2 separate regions of the Homo sapiens genome follow, and region 1 is linked to region 2. Evidence: promoter capture Hi-C in human tissues and cell types (Jung and others, 2019). All regions are on one chromosome and are shown on one strand. The core of a region is centred on a gene start or on the middle of the fragment in contact, and the rest is flanking DNA. Distances in the headings are between cores, read along the strand shown. Region 1 has its middle 110 kb from the start of CRYBB2. Region 2 holds the start of PIWIL3 (piwi like RNA-mediated gene silencing 3).

Region 1 (5,174 bases), core at 2,054-4,553, 560 kb after region 2:
AATCGATAAAAAGGAATGAGCTCATTTCATCTATGTATCAAATTGTGGGCATAGATGTGTTCAGAATATTCCTTTATTATTTTTTGATTTAACTGCTCTTCAATTGATGCTATTAGTACATTGTAACATCTTTCTTTCCTTTGTGGTTAGCCAAGGTAGAGGTTTATCAATGGTACTGATCTCAAAGAACTGGCTTTTTGTTTTATTGATTTTCTCGGATGATTTTCTGTTTTCTATTCCATTGATTTCTGCAAGAATTGTTTTTTAAGCTTAGAGTATGAATTTAGATTTTTCTCATTATTGACACCGCGTCATGAATGTAGTTCACTGAATTCAATCTCACTGAAATGTACACTAAATAATTAAAATAATATGTATGCTTCACCATAATTTAAAAAGTAAAACACGATAGGTGATAAATGTAGTAGCAGGATATGTAAATCCACAGAATTAAATGGTCTTGTAACATTTTGAAAAATGAGGGGATTGGCCTGGACCTTCAAATGGGCAGGAGGTGTGAGGAGATGCTCTCACAGAACCATACAGTGCCTTTCTGTATTAATCAGTTCTTAACGCTAATATTTCACATTTCTCCTCCTCTCCTTTGCTTTCCTTCCACACCAAAGAGAATGGTCCAGCAGCAGCTCAGTCCATGCTTGTCAACCACCCACCTCCATAGACTTCAGCGCTGGTCCCCACATCCCCCAAGGCTCCTAGTGGGATTCCTGAGAAGCACCAATGCACTGACTATTACTCTATGTTCTCCTAGCTTCTGTTCTGGACCTGGAAGATATTGCGCTTGATATTGCGGAGGAGGTGTTATCTGAAATGGTGAGATGCATTCCTTCATCTGGAAGAGAATTTTTTTTTTTTCTGGGGCTTCTTCCCTTATTAATGAAATGAAGACATAAAAGTCTGACCATATACATAACAGATGACTAAGACAATTTTCTTGGTGGGGGGAATATCAAGTGAATATCATTTTTGATTGCCATTGTCAATCAAGCTTCAGTTGATCAAGCTTCAGTTGGTCATGGACTCTAGTGACCAGCCATGAGTTTATGAACAACTGAGGCCTAATTGATGATGACAGTAAAAAATGACAGCATTACCTACAAACTGTCTGGTAGTGAGCATATTTTTTAGTAGCAACTTTTTCTTCTTGAAAAATAATTTTGTATTTGCCAGCCAACATGGACTTGCAAATATTCCATGAAAACCCATTGCCCAAAATTCCTACCGTATGTATTTATTATTTTTAAAAAAAGCTTTATTGAGAAATAGTTGACATGCAAAACAATTCACCCATTTAAAGTGGGTGATTCAGTGTTTTTACTGTATTTACAGGGTTGTGCAACCATTGTACAATCTCATTTTAGAACGTTTTCATTCCTCCACGAAGAAACCCTGTATCCATTAGTGGTTACTCCTCTCTTTTTCCAACCCCCACACCTCTGGCGATAGGAAGCCACTCATCTACTTTCTATTGCTGTAGATTTGCCTACTCCGGCCGTTTCTTTTTTAACTTGTTTTTTTTTTTTTTTTTTTTAAGTTCTGAGATACATGTGCAGGATGTACAGGTTTGTTACATAGGTAAAAGTGTGCCATGGTGGTTTGCTGCACCTGTCAAACCATCACCTAGGTATTAAGCCCTGCATGCATTTGCTGTTTATCCAGATGCTCTCCCTTCCCCTGCCCCGACAGGCCCGAGTGTGTCTTGTTCTCTTCTCTAACACCGTATATATCCTAAGACCACTCCCTTGCTGATACAAATCTAAGTGATGGGTTGTGGGGGGCTCTATTCCCTGCTTTTGTCTGGAGAGCCTGCCTGGCCTCAGGTTCCTGATAGGAGTGAGGACCTGGAGTGCACTGTGAGAAACAGATGGCTCAGTGAAGAACTGTCATCATCCACTGGAGTCCCTGGAAACAGCCGTATCATTTAGATGGTGTGGGTTTGTGTGCATGAGGGTTGGGAGTTAGCTAGGGATGAATTAATGTGTAGTGATTGTGAATGTGTTTGTAAATGTGTGTTTTTCCCCTAAAATGTGGACCCGCATGCCCAGCACAGTGCAAGTGTCAGTTTTCTTGAATTCCTGGCCTATGGTGGTTCTCTCACCTCAGCCTCCCGAGTCATGTCATTCTTCTAATAAAAAGGAAGAAAAACTTCAACACCACCATACACTTTACATAAATGACCTCTTTACTCCCTCACCACAGCTGTACCTGAAGGTCAGTTTAATATCCCTACTCCTTATATGGAGAGAGTGCAGAAAGGAATGAACCCAGATTTTGACCTCCTGAATGGAAAAGGCAAAAGTGAACCCAGAAATGGGTCCCGATGTTGATGGTCTGTATTACTTAACTGTGTCAGCACTCAGGCTTGGTGATATGACCCTACACCAGGGAGTTCCAGCACCTATGTGTGCCCCTGGTAGTGGTAGTGGATGGCCTATAAGCGTGCCAAACATTGCCCATCATCAAATGGGGCCCCATTGGTCACATAACCCTGGGTAGCAAAAGGTACACGGAACAATAGACGTTGGCATGGACATTACTGTGAAATATACATAGAAAGCCCACAGGCTTCTGGTCAGCTCACAGATTCTGAGAAGTGTAAGGGATCACATGGAATAGTGCAGGTCAACATCTGTCAGTGCTGCGATCATTCCTTAGCACTTGGTCAAAGCAGGGAAGGATCAGGAAGATATTGCATTGTATTTAGTAACATGAGTACCTCAAGCCTTAGAAATGCTCCAATCCATGGCCGGGCACGGTGGGAGGCTGAGACAGCCGATCACCTGAGTCAGGAGTTTGAGACCAGCCTGGCCAACATGGTGAAAGCCTGTATTTTTATACAAAAAGTAGTCAGGCATGGTGGCACACACCTGTAATCCCAGCTACTTGGGAGGCTGAGGCTGGAGAATCACTTGAACCTGGGAGGTGGAGGTTGCAGTGAGCCAAGATCGAACCCCTGCACTGCAGTCTGAGTGGCAGAGTGAAACTCTGTCTCAAAAAAAAAAAAAAAAAAAAAAGCTCCAATCCATAGCAGACGGACAAGGGCCAGTGCCACATCAGAACTCAGAGGACATTGTTGTTAGCCTGGTGCCCATCAATCTCACTGGAGACCTCCTGCATCGCTACGTTAGTGAGGCTTAGCGCTCACCATGTACTGATCCCCATGATGGACTGTCCCACTGTCGGGGGCTGGTGTGAGCATGAGCAGCCACTGACTCAATGGACGCACACAGTGTAAAGAAACGGAAGACATGGGCTGGGCGCGGTGGCTCAAGCCTCTAATCCCAGCACTTTGGGAGGCCGAGGTGGGTGGATTGCCTGAGGTTAGGAGTTCAAGACCAGCCTGGCCGAGCTGGTGAAACCCCGTCTCAACTGCAAATACAAAAATTAGCTGGGTGTGGTGGTGGGCACCTGTAATGCCAGGTACTCAGGAGGCTGAGGCAGGAGAATCACTTGAACCCAGGAGGCAGAGGTAGCAGTGAGCCGAGATTGAGCCATTGCACTCCAGCCTGGGTGACTGGACGAGACTTCGTCTTAAAAAAAAAAAAAGAAAAAAGGAAGGGAAGAGCAGAGGAGAAATATCACAGTTAGTACTCATATCTCTTAGACCCCTTCTGAGTAGGAGTGAACAGGACCTGGCCTTCCTGTCTGCCGAAAGCATGGCATGGACATCATCCTAAATGCCTCAAGAATGGAGTTTCATTGCTTTCTCTTGTCTTCTCCATCTGTATGTGATGATGGCAGTGACACCAGCAGAAATTGGTTGGGGGGCAGAACAGGAATCAGGTCCCCACTTCTCTGACACGGAGCAGACAGGACACAAATCAGCAGGGATGGACTTCAGGGTCAGGACACAGGTCCCAGGCCTGATCTTCCTGGGGCTGGGACAGATGAGTTTTTCTTTTTCACCTCTTCTGGAAGTCACTTGAGGAATGGTCCTTGAGGAGACACTGTTGACCAAGGGTTGTCTGGCCCAGAAATGTGTTTTTGTTGTTTTGTTTGTTTGTTTGTTTTGAGACAGAGTCTCACTCTGTTGCCCAGGCTGGAGTGCAGTGGCAGGATCTGAACTCTCTGCAACCTCCACCTCCCAGGTTCAAGTGATTCTCCTGCCTCAGCCTGCTGAGTAGCTGGAATTACAGACGTGCACCACCATGCCCAGCTAATTTTTGTATTTATAGTAGAGATGGGGTTTCTCCATGTTGGCCAGGCTGGTCTTGAACTCCTTCAGATGATCCACCTGCCTCAGCCTCCCAAAGTGCTGGGATTACAGGCGTGAGCCACTGTGCCTGGCTGACGTGTTTCAACTGGACAGCGCCCCCTAGCACTGGGCCTGTAGCTGCAGCACTCCCGAGTAGCAGGGGAGGTGAGGAGGGACACGAGTGCCAGTGCACCATGAGCTCAGCAGAGGGATGGGGACTGATTCCAGAGTCCAGCTCATCCTTGCAACTCTTCTTAGAATCCAGAGTACATCAGTTTCCACTTATTTTATAGAAGGTTTGGAATCTTCAGTGTCAAAGTCTGTGTTGTGTCTTCCCACAGGGTGGATAGAGGAACCCTGGCTATGGGTGTTTTCTGCCAGGGCAGTGACTGTGTCTTCCTCATTAGTCCTTATCCCAGAGCTCAGTCCTGGGGCGAACATGTTAGGCCCCATGGGCATTGTAATGAACACATCCCTGGGATGAGTTCTAGGTCGCCTCTGGGGTGGGATCTAGCTTAGTTGTGGAAATGTTCCCTTCTCAGCCTGTCCAGCCTGTTGAGCCCTACACCAATCCTGGAGGCTGCCCCAGCTTCTGAGTCAGGGTCCCTGGAGATGAACTTGAGCTCCTGAGGACAGTGAGGTACCCCTGCCCCTCGGTTCCTGCTGCGCTGATCCTGTCTAGACAGGCTGTGCAGGGCCACGCTCTTCCCCTGTGTGCACGTGCGCCCCCTGCTGGAATCCCTCTGGACCTGGATGTTGTCCTCATTGTTGTCATATCCCCAGCCCCACACAGTGACTGGCACTTGTGCAGATGCCCAGGAAGTAACCATAAACGTATGGTAGGAGCAGAGCTGCAAACTATTTCGCAAGAAAACACCAGGGGAGGGGAGTCATGTCTTCCTCATGTCTGGATCTCCTGTGCCGTCTAGTGTGGTTCTCAGTCATATATGTGCCGCCTCGT
Region 2 (4,944 bases), core at 1,958-4,457:
AGCACACTTCACTTCTTGCATTTTGGATCCTGACTGGTGAGCAGCCAGACTTGTGTTCAGTTACATTAAGATGGCCTTTCTTTTAGAAAATAATGGAGACAGTGGATGTGTGAGGTTTTCTTGTCCTTCATAACCAACATTTCAAAAGTTGCTATTCTATAATTTTTTATTTCCAATTTTCAGGCCCAAAAGATTCAGGATTGAAGACTATTTCTCTCTCTTGCCCTCTTTTTTTTTTGGAGACAGAGTCTTGCCCTGTCGCCCAGGCTGGAGTGCAATGGCATGATTTTGGCTCACTGCAACCTCCACCTCCCCGGTTCAAGCAATTCTCCTTCCTCATGCCCGGCTAATTTTTGTATCGTTAGTAGAGACGGGGTTTCACCATGTTGGCCAGGCTGGTCTCTTACTCCTGACCTCGTGATCCACCTGCATTGGCCTCCCAAAGTGCTGGGATTACAGGCGTTGAGTCACTGTGCCCGGCCTATTTCTCTTAATGAACAAGCTATAGTGCTCAGTTGGCCAACAGAACTGTGTTGGTAGCCTACTCTTACTGGAATACATTCGATAACACAGTGTATATCATAAATGCACCAAACAGTAAGAATTATTATCATATCAAAAGCAGCAATTACAAAAGAAGCAGTGTTAAATTTTAAACAGAATGAAAGATTAAACCCTTAGATTTGATAATCATATTAATAAAGAGAAGTAAATCTTATCAATATAAGTATTAAGTACTAAGTAGTTGTATATTTCACAATGTAAGTAAATCTTATATTGAAGGAATAAAGTCTGCATAATAGGAGCTCATTAAATAGCAACTTCTATGAGCAACAGGACAATATTATGTCCCTGGCATTTGGACTTAGACAAAAACCTTTGTGGAATCATAGCCTGTCCAGGTATGTGCTGTGTGACCCTGAGCAGGTGATATCATCTCTCTGAGACCCTGTTTCCTAGTATGTTGGGTATTGAAAACTTATGTCACAGGGGCCTGTGGGGGTTACAGGAGCCAATCTGTGCAAAGAGCTCAGCAGGTGCTGAGTGCTCAGCAAGTTACAGCTACTGGAGTTAAAATCACTACCACAGTGGAGAAGAGCCCTGGCAAAGGCTGCAGTCTCCATTCTACCCACTGGGAAATCCGAACGGCTGACCAGCTCCCCTGTCTTTCCCAAACTAGGATCCCAGGAATTAGAAATGGTGGTGCTTAGGTGGGTGCACAGCAGCATCTAGTGGACTAGAAGGAGAACTGAAGAAGTGTCACAATGACATCGGGAAGAGAAAGTTTTAAGGCTGGGGAAAAGGTTGGCAGAGAAGTCAGGAAGGAGGCCTGCATGTGCCGGGTGTCCCCTGTGGGGAGATCAGATGAGGTACCTTAACAGTTATCTGGACCTCAAGCCCCCATGTGCTAGCTGAGGGCGTCCTTCTCCCTCCCCAGGCCTCCCTGGGTGCTGGGTCTCTGGGTCCTATGGGCTCAGGGGCCCATCTTTTTCAAGTTCTGCTCCACGTGTCTGTGTCCAGCTGAGGGCACTGACCCCACTGCCCCAGTCCCCAGGGCTTAGATGCCAGGACAGTAGAAAGCTGTGTGCCAGGGCATAACCAAGGTGTCCTCCACTGCTCTGGGCCACACATTGGCAGCTGGGCCCTGTGTCCCTCTGACACCGGATCCTAGGGTTTCTGGCTCTGCCATCTCTGCTGTGATGCTCCATTCCAACCATGTGGCTCAGCAGGGAGGGCATTACACACTGTCCCTTCCCCCTTTTCCATACTCCTGCCTTCCTGCATGCCCTGCACAGGAACCCTCTTCCCTTCTCCTTTTGCCAAAAGAATTCAGAAGATACCAACTTTCTCCTCTTTTCCTGTCTGCAGTGGAGGTCCCGGCAGGACCCCCTCCTGAGCTGTGAGGGTTAAATGGGAGAAGGTGTATTGAGCTTGAAGCACTGGCAGGTCCCACAACGAATGCTCAAAAAATGGAAGCCTCTGCCACCATCTGCATCATCCCCATCAACCACAGGAGCAAAGAGCCCGCCTTTTCTGAGAAGAGCATTTACATATTGATAGAAATTCCGCGGTTTTATTTATCATCACGTCAGTTTTAAGGATGTAAGTAGGTACACATATACATATGTATCTAAAATATATTAAGTTTTTAAAAGTAGGTTATTAAAGGATATGTACAAGACACTCTAGATTTTTTTTTTTTTTTTTTTTTTTTGAGATGGGAGTCTCACTCACTCTGTTGCCCAGGCTGGAGTACAGTGGTGCGATCTTGGCTCACTGCAACCTCCGCCTCCCAGGTTCAAGCAATCCTCCTGCCTCAGCCTCCCAAGTAGCTGGGACTACAGGCACCCGCCACTGCGCCCAGTTAATTTTGGTATTTTTCGTAGAGACGGGGTTTCACCATCTTGGCCAGGCTGGTCTTGAACTCCTGACCTCATGGTCCAGCCGCCTCAGCCTCCCAAAGTGCTGGGATTACAGGCATGAGCCACTGTGGCTGACCAAGATGCTCTAGATTTTTAAAATAAATATACATACTCCACATGCTCAAATATAAGCTGAATCTGTAACCCAGCAGCTTAGCAGCCTAACCTCAAACCGCATTTTAAAACTTTTTTTCCTTTCCCCTTTCCTCTCTTCTGCTAATCTGAAGATGTAACTTAGACAAAGTATAGACGTGTTTCCTCTCCTCTTGAAATCCAGCCTTGGAATGTGCTGTGAACCTCCACCCCCTTTCTTTTCCTGTTCTATGCCCCCATGCCTTATGCACATTTATTTACCTAGTTGTTTGGTAAGCACACACCATACTCACTTATCTGGTCACATATTTCCTTAGAAGCTTCAGTAGTCAGATCCTGATACGAACCATGCACCTCCTCCAGCCATGATGACGCCGGCCACTTCCACAGATGGAAAAATAATTCAGGACAAGCCACTGGAGGGGGTCACACCACCTGACACCTCCCAGTCCCCCTGCCTCTTTTGCCTTCCAAATCCTCCCTTTAAAAACCGCTTTGGCCGGGCGCGGTGGCTCACGCCTGTAATCCCAGCACTTTGGCAGGCTGAGGCGGGTAGATCATGAGGTCAGGAGATGGAGACCATCCTGGCTAACACAGTGAAACCCTATCTCTACTAAAAATACAAAAAATTAGCCGGGCGTGGTGGCGGGCACCTGTAGTCCCAGCTACTCGGGAGGCTGAGGCAGCAAAATGGCGTGAACCCGGGAGGCGGAGCTTGCAGTGAGCCGAGATCACGCCACTGCACTCCAGCCCGGGTGAAAGAGTGAGACTCTGTCTCAAAAAATAAACAAATAAATAAATATCTTAAAAAATAAAATAAAATAAATAAAAACCCCTGCGTTCATCCGAGCGCAGTGGCTCACGTCTGTAATCGCAGCACTTTGGGAGGTCAAGGCCGGAGGATCACGAGGTCAGGAGATGGAGACCATCCTGACTAACGCGGGGAAACCCCGTCTCTACTAAAAATACAAAAAATCAGCTGGGCATGGTGGCATGTGCCTGTAGTCCCAGCAACTCGGGAGGCTGAGGCAGGAGAATCGCTTGAACTCAGAAGGCGGAGGTTGCAGTGAGCTGAGATTGCGCCACTGCACTCCAGCCAGATTGGGCGACAGAGCAAGACACCGTCGCAAAAAACAAACAAAAAAAACCCCTGCGTTCTTTCCTCACGTGGAAGAGTGGAATTGCTCTCTGCTCTTGCCCTTGCTAGCATAGATTATAAAATTCTTTCTTTTTAAATCACATGTCATTATCATTTTGACTTCTTTCTACAAGCAGTGAGCAGCTGGGCCCTTTTGCTGGTTACAACATGAGTGACTGGGGCAAATACATCAATCAAGGTTTATCAAGCCAGATTTAGGTTGTTTCTGGGAAAAACACGAGCCAAACATGCACCTGTGGCTATTTTTCTGAAAAGGTTTTTCAGGAGATTTCCTATTTTTTTTAAGAAACTTTATTTTATTTTATTTTATTTATATCTCTATGTATTTATTGAGATGGAGTCTCGTTCTGTCGTCCAGGCTAGAGTGCAGTGATGTGATCTCTGCTCACTGCAGCCTTCGCCTCCCGGGTTCAGGCGATTCTCCTGACTCAGCCTCCTGAGTAGCTGGGATTACAGGTGCATGCCACCACACCAGGCTAATTTTTGTATTTTCAGTAGAGACGGGGTTTCATGATATTGGCCAGGCTGATCTCAAACTTCTGACCTCAAGTGATCCACCCACCTTGGGATTACAGGCGTGAGCCACCATGCCCAGTCGGGGATCAGAGTTTTTAAAAATGATTTGGTGGGTATGGGCTCAGGAAGTAGGGAGTGCTTATTGGTCGGGTTGGAGATGGAATCATGGGGGTGGAAGTGAGTTCTTGCTGATTTCTCTTCCTGGATGAGATCGCAGGACTGGTTGAGCCAGATTATCAGTCTGGGTGGTGTCATCTGCTGCATCGGAATTCAGGGTATGCAAAATATCTCAAGCACTGATCTTAAGTTTTGCAACGGAGATTTTATTCCCAGAAGCAACTTGGGGAGGTTCAGACTCTTGCGGCCAGAAGCTGCATGGCCCCTAAGCCGTAATCTCTCATCTTGTAGCTAATTTGTTAGTCCTACAAAGGCAGGACAGTTCCCCACGCAAGAAGCGTCTTTTTTTCAGGAAAGGACTATTATCAGTTTTGTTTCAGAATTTAAACTATAAACAATTCTTCCCCAAGACTAGTTTGGCCTATGCCCAGGAATGAACAAAGACAGCTTAGGCGTTAGAAGCAAGGTGTGGTCGGTTAGGTCTGATCTGTTTCACTGTCATAATTTTCTCAGTTATGAGTTTTGCAAAGGCCCTTTCAATGGGGTGACTATAGTAAGTTAATTTTCCTCCTCTTTCTTCTGGTTTACCCAAGGGCATGTGGAGTCATAGAACTGTCCAGCAGGCACTGAAAGTAA

What was found. The method cuts DNA at HindIII sites, captures the fragments that hold promoters and counts their contacts. A contact is called where the count stands out against the background at its distance.
Region 1: a contact is called between a fragment that was not itself captured here and the fragment with the promoter of PIWIL3 in region 2, in 2 of the 25 tissues and cell types used here (dorsolateral prefrontal cortex and mesendoderm cells).

Annotation. Positions count from the first base shown.
Region 1 is chr22:25,329,318-25,334,491 of GRCh38, forward strand. No RefSeq gene overlaps it. Among named protein-coding and RNA genes, the nearest start is that of CRYBB2, 110 kb to the left of the region's middle. The HindIII fragment of the contact is 8,465 bases long and covers 1-5,174 here.
Region 2 is chr22:24,771,513-24,776,456 of GRCh38, forward strand. It overlaps PIWIL3 (piwi like RNA-mediated gene silencing 3), which reads right to left and starts at 3,208. Exons shown (of 21, transcript NM_001255975.1): 1 at 2,810-3,208. The HindIII fragment of the contact is 9,839 bases long and covers 649-4,944 here.